Regions from separate parts of the Homo sapiens genome. Here region 2 is linked to region 1. Evidence: promoter capture Hi-C in 16 types of primary human blood cells and fetal thymus (Javierre and others, 2016). All regions are on one chromosome and are shown on one strand. The core of a region is centred on a gene start or on the middle of the fragment in contact, and the rest is flanking DNA. Distances in the headings are between cores, read along the strand shown.

The links. Contacts are between HindIII fragments. The CHiCAGO score rates a contact against its expected background, and 5 or more counts as called.
Region 2: a fragment that was not itself captured here is called in contact with the fragment with the promoter of GRXCR2 in region 1 in 1 of 17 cell types (M0 macrophages); the score reaches 5.3 in M0 macrophages.

The regions. Positions count from the first base shown.
Region 1 is chr5:145,871,332-145,874,430 of GRCh38, forward strand. GRXCR2 (glutaredoxin and cysteine rich domain containing 2) reads right to left here and starts at 1,683. Exons shown (of 3, transcript NM_001080516.2): 1 at 1,302-1,683. The coding sequence starts at 1,637. The HindIII fragment of the contact is 6,212 bases long and covers 1-3,099 here.
Region 2 is chr5:146,058,764-146,061,862 of GRCh38, forward strand. SH3RF2 (SH3 domain containing ring finger 2) reads left to right here. Exons shown (of 10, transcript NM_152550.4): 9 at 1,103-1,461. The region is part of intron 1 of LOC107986458 (a long non-coding RNA gene); the gene reads right to left. Among named protein-coding and RNA genes, the nearest start is that of PLAC8L1, 45 kb to the right of the region's middle. The HindIII fragment of the contact is 2,110 bases long and covers 578-2,687 here.

The DNA of each region.
Region 1 (3,099 bases), core at 433-2,932:
AAGGAACATGCCCTAAAGCAAAACATTTGTAGCATCAGAAGATCTGGATTCTTATTCTGACTCTGTACCCAATGACCCTGTAGTATCAGATGGATCCCTTAACAACTTGGCACTCAATTTTTCTCTTCTGCAAAATGGGAATGACCATACTTTGGCCTTTCTCCCCAAGGTTATAGTAAAGACCCAATGCCATAGATATAGACAGAGATAGTACATGATGACACTTTGTACTGCATACGTCACCCCATTAAGATAAGAGGTCATTCATTTCAGCCCCTTTTAATATCAAAAACAAGCCTAGTGTTATCTTCGGTAATTGTGAACATGCCCATAATTATACTTTTACCAATGCCAGTAAAGCCAGTAATACATTTGTCTGCAATAGATGTGTTATCTATTCCCTTAGGAAACTAACAATAAAAATAATTCAAGAGTAATTATCTGGCTTTCACACTTTAAAGATGAGAACACATCCTGGTGTGCTATTCATTAATAACGTGGATACATTATATAATTGTATTTTATCTTTTTTAAGAAGTCATTCATGGTCCCACTGACAGCATATATACATCTCCTATGAATTTTTGGATACCAGTGTATGTTTTCCAGGTTCTACCTTAAAAGAAAATCATGTATGGACTTTTGATTATCCATGGTACTGGGAAGTAATTGAAATTCATAGATTAAACACATTCTTCAATCGAACCATTAGCTCAAACTTCTTCCTCACATAACATATCCTCTGGCTGATTTGCGTTTCACCATCCCTTCCCAGGACTCCAACTACCCAGAGCTTATGCTAAGGAGCAATGGAAAGGAAAAATAAATAGACAAAGCAGGCAGTATGAGGAAGGCAATAGGGGTAAAAAACAAGACATGGATAAACTGCAAGCTGAGTAATTGGCTGGAGTAAAATGAGCACTTTCAAATACTCAGCTCTTTCAGGAAACAAAATGACTGCATAATTGTCTAAAACCGCAGTCTGACAACCTGAAAACCACTGCACCTCTATTTAATTTACATTCCAGGAAAACTCAGTCAAAGATCCAATTACAATGTATTACCTTGGATGGAATTTGAATACTATATATGCTCATTGCACTTTCCAATTAGTAGTCAACAAGCATGTTATTTTTACCCCAGAAATATTCGTCTAATAACAACTTCCCATTTGGTGCACCAACAGTTCTGGTTGGTACCGGAGGGGGAGCAAGACACAAATCTGAACCATTTAGGAGTTTCTCTAAACACGTTTTAGGAAGCCCTACCCTTAAAGCCTATATGCCATGCACAATACCAACCTTATGGTCATTCGCCTTGTAATCGTTGAACCGAGGCTGGCCGCCTGCCAAGGTGTAGGCATTACCCTCTCTAAACACACTGATCCTCTGAGCAGTCAGCTTAGGGGAGCACATCTGGGGCCTGGGGACTTCCCCAGACCCATAAACACCATCCATTGTTTCAAGAGACTCTTGCAGAAAACTGTGAGGGTATTCCTCCTTTGGTGACTCTAATTCCTGCCCATCCTCAAAGACCTGCTTCAATACTCGACCGCTGTAGGAGGAGGAGATTTTAAATCGTACTTTCCGGGGTTTGCCATCACTCTTCTGATTCAGCTTTTTCTCAGGGTCCTCCATCAGCAGAAAGTTGACCCTGTGGTCTCCAGCCTTCCGTGCAGCCGGTGAAACTTGGGCCTCTGAGAAAAAGGCATTTTATTTTCTCTCCTCCTGCATATAATTAATTCAAGTTGTTGCTGGGGTATGGTCAGTTTACAGCAACTGACACCCATACATTAAATATTGATAGACCCTCATGAAAAGGCAGGTGATTCTGGTTTGATGGAGTGGATGGAATATAAGACAAGATTGATTCTTCTCATAATCCCAAGCTCACCATGACTTCACCCCAACCCTAACCTTTCTTAACCTGAGGATGAAGAAGTTTATTTAGACTGAACATGTGCCAATTCAATAAGGATCAGACACTCAATTAGTTAACAAGTGTCTTCTTATTGTTAGCAATGACAATTAAAATCTAGTGAGCATTTCATAAGTACCAGAGATTGTTACATGCATTATTTTATTTCATCCTCACGATAACCCTACAAAGAAAATCTTACCTTTGTTTTACACAGGGGAAAGTGAGGCTTAGAGCCACTTGTCATTTATCTTCATCATTTGTCTGCTCTATTACACCTAAGTAAGTGACAGAGCAGGGATTTGAACCCAGATCTATCTGACTCCAAAACCCAAGATCAGCCCACACAACCAGAAGTTTTCCAGTTCTGGTTCTAGAAGAGGGAATGACGTCCTAGATACAGTGGAGGTTCTTGGAGGCTGCTGCTAAGAACAGGAGAAGGCCGAGGGTCCTGGATTCTGGGCCTTCTCCCCCTACGCTAACCAGAGCACCTCCACTTGGTATGTATTTTACATTTAAGATTTCATTTGCAATCACAGCACAAGTCCCCATTGCCTGTTGGACTTCGTAAATGCCTGACACTGAACTAGTGGCTGGAGTGAATAGCACAGAAGCATGTGACCTGGGCCTGAGAACAGTCCTACAATCCCATACAGACCTCACACAGGTGAAATAATAACCTCATGCTTAGAGAGCAAACTGCCCACAGCTGAATCCCAGAATAGCCACTCTGGGAAGGAAGTGGTCTCTAAGGAGACAAGGATGGAAGAAGGTTTGTAAAGAAAAGGGCCCTTGGGCTGGGTAGAAAATGGTAGGTTGGATGTGAGGAGCTGAAAGTGGAGTAAAGCCTTTCTCCCTGTCTTTGCTACCAGCATCACCATTTACTGAGTTACCCAAATTGACCCCTCCTATTCCCCTACAGCCATTCGCTTGGATTCTTTTTTTTTATTATTTTATTTTATTTTTTTTTTTTTGAGACGGAGTCTCACTCTGTTGCCAGGCTGGAGTGCAGTGGTACGATCTCGGCTCACTGCAACCTCCACCTCCTGAGTTCGAGCAATTCTCATGCCTCAGCCTCCCGAGTAGCTGGGACTACAGGCACACGCCACCATGCCCAGCTAATTTTTGTATTTTTAGTAGAGATGGAGTTTCACCATGTTGGCCAGGATGGTCTCAATCTCT
Region 2 (3,099 bases), core at 383-2,882, 190 kb after region 1:
TCCCCAGGTCACCTACAGGATATATGTCCAATGGATGGGGATCTCCTGCCTTCCAGAGAATTTGAGGGGAAGAAATGACCTTTTCCTGAGACAGGACCATCTCAATTTAAAAAAAAAAAAAAAAGGAAAAGAAAAACAATGAGCTCAGGAAGGGACAAAACCAAGCTCTTGGACCTTGCATTTTTAGGATATGTGATCCTTTACCCAAAAATAATGATAGCTAACAGACATGCGGCATTTATCATATTCCAGGCACTATCCTGATACTTTGCACACCAAATAGAATGCAATCCTCACAGCAGCCCAATGATGTACTGTTATTATCTCCAGCTTACAAACGAGAGAACTGAGGTGCAGAGAGGTGACGTGACTTAACTCATCCCAGGCTTTCCAGGAGGAGGTCTGATTCCAGATCCTCTGTCATGAGACATTGCAAAGCCCATCCTCACAGCCCTAACTGTGGAATAACCTTTCCAAATTTGCCTTTGTCTGCTGTTGTGCTTGCCTAGCCCTTGCCACTCACCCTTTCTCCCTGCAGCCCCCGACAAAAAGCAACCCCCACCTGCCACATGCCTAAAGCTTCTGTCAAGATTTTCACAGCAAGTCGCTGGGCAGAGTTTTCCTCTCTCCTCCTCTCTTTCTCCTTTTCCTCTCTCTCATTCTTCTCGGTTGCCTCTCCTTTGTGTTTCTCAATGTCTTCTATTTCCTATCTCTGATTCTGTCATGTGTTTCCTATTTGGTCTGACTGCCTCTGTGTCTGCTTCACGCGCGCGTGTGTGTGTGTACGTGTGTGTGTGCGTGTGTGTGTGTGTATCACAAGGCAAATGGAAGCAATATACCTTCTGACAGCCCCCCTACACACATACACACATACACACTCACACACACCATTCAGCCAGAGAGATATTTGCTGCCAGCATCAGCAAACAGCACTAAAAAAAGAATAAGGTCACCTTTGAAAGACCCGGAGAGAATGTGAGTGCAGTCAGATTAGGAAAGCGCTTGTCTATTCTGGGATATCAGGAAGCACTGCTTACCCAGCCCCACCCAACCTACTGCCAGCCGCCCCTGCTGCTGATCTCTCTGTCCTATAATTCCCCAGATGGATCCCTGCAGAGACCCCTCCAGTCCGGGATCCCCACTCTCGTGGTAGGCTCCCTCAGACGCAGCCCCACCATGGTCCTTCGGCCTCAGCAGTTCCAATTCTACCAGCCACAGGGGATCCCCTCCTCCCCCTCAGCCGTGGTGGTGGAGATGGGGTCCAAGCCTGCCCTCACGGGGGAGCCCGCCCTCACGTGCATCAGCAGGGGCAGTGAGGCCTGGATCCACTCCGCGGCCAGCTCCCTCATTATGGAAGACAAAGAAATCCCCATCAAGAGTGAGCCTCTGCCAAAACCGCCCGCATCTGCCCCACCATCCATCCTGGTGAAACCAGAAAACTCAAGAAATGGCATCGAAAAGGTAGGATCAGAGTGACATTGGGGGCCCAACTCTTTCGATCCCGTACTATGCATAGTGTCTCAGCTCAGAGATTTTAGTGTTGGTGAACAAGGAACCAAAATTGCAGCCTCGAAAGAATCCTCACACATAACACTCCTCCTCCCCAACTCCCCACTGAGCCATGGCCAACATCCCCAACATCACCCACGCCCTCCCTACATGTGTTACTGATTCGCCTTTATGTTTCCTGAATATTTTATACATCTTTTGAGGCCCAAAAGTGGCTTGAAAAAAAAGCATGACTTTGGCATTAGATGAATCTTGCTTTGAATTCTAGCTTTGCTGCTTGCTAGCTGGGTGACTTTGGTCAAAATACTTCACCCTTCTGAGTCACTTAGTTTGCATAATCTGTAAAATGGAGGTAGAAAGAGTAATGGCCACACAGTAATGGAGTGGAGATTAAACGAGATATGTGAAGTGCTTACATAGGGTTTGACACATAATTATGCATTGTATAAAAGGGGCAACTGAGGCACAGGATAATGTAAGTGACATCGAGGTCACACTGAATGATAATGACTCCAACTACCTTATTGTGACCTCTGTGGCAGACGTCAGATCTGTTAACTTCTAGTCCAGGATATTTCCCACTAGAAGACGTGAGAGTTTTTGTAAAAGGCTTATGTTCTCAATAATATCCTTGAAGCAGGAGGAATAGTGGGAAGAGAGGACAGTAAGAAAGTTAGGTGATGCTTATTGCTGTCTTAATTTATGAACATCACCATCATCACATCATCGCCATCACCACCTCCATCACCACCGCCATCAGCATCATTCCACCATCATCGTCCATTCCCCTCAGAACGGAAAGAGGATGCGATTCCCCCATTGGTTAACCAGTTATCGAATACTAACAAGCTGGCAGGCACTGTGCTGAGTACTTCATGTGTCCCATATATTTAATCCTGACAACAACCCTCTCAAATAGGCATTAGTTTCATCCTCATTTTAAAATTAGGAAATGGCAGCTCAGGGAGTTAAAGAACATTACCCAAGACCGCACAGTTGACACATACGTGTGGAGTAGAATCCAGATCTGATGCAAAACTCATGCTCTTACTGCTAAGCTATCAGCTCATAGGGAAAGGTATTGGAAAAAGCACTGACATATATAAAGGTTGGGAGTTCTTATTCTGAATTATAGAAATAATTCAGAGTTTTCTAGGCCCCAGTTGCCCATTACTCCAAGCTTTTAGATACAACTATAAGCATTTCATAAATGCCCAGACCTTGGCTAGATATTAGGAGGATCAGAACGTATGAAGAAACTCAGATCTTAGTGGGGGATACTAGGGTTGCATTACATGGAAGAAAGACATCATTCCTGAGCAGTACCACAGAACGCTTTATTAGGCCCTGAGATAGAGACTGGCTAAAGCAAATACTGTACCTATGGGTGCCTAGCAGATATATAACAGGCTAGGAGATGTGAAAGGAAAGAGGAAGAGGGGGAATTGGCATAAACTGGAGACCTTGCATCTCATATAAAGGGGGCACTGCTTCTCAGGTCCAGCCAGCTGTTGTCAGAATGAGCCATAGGCCCAGTGCGTCAGAGCTTTGATTTTTTTTTTAAGAGACATATGAAATTCTGATTTTTAT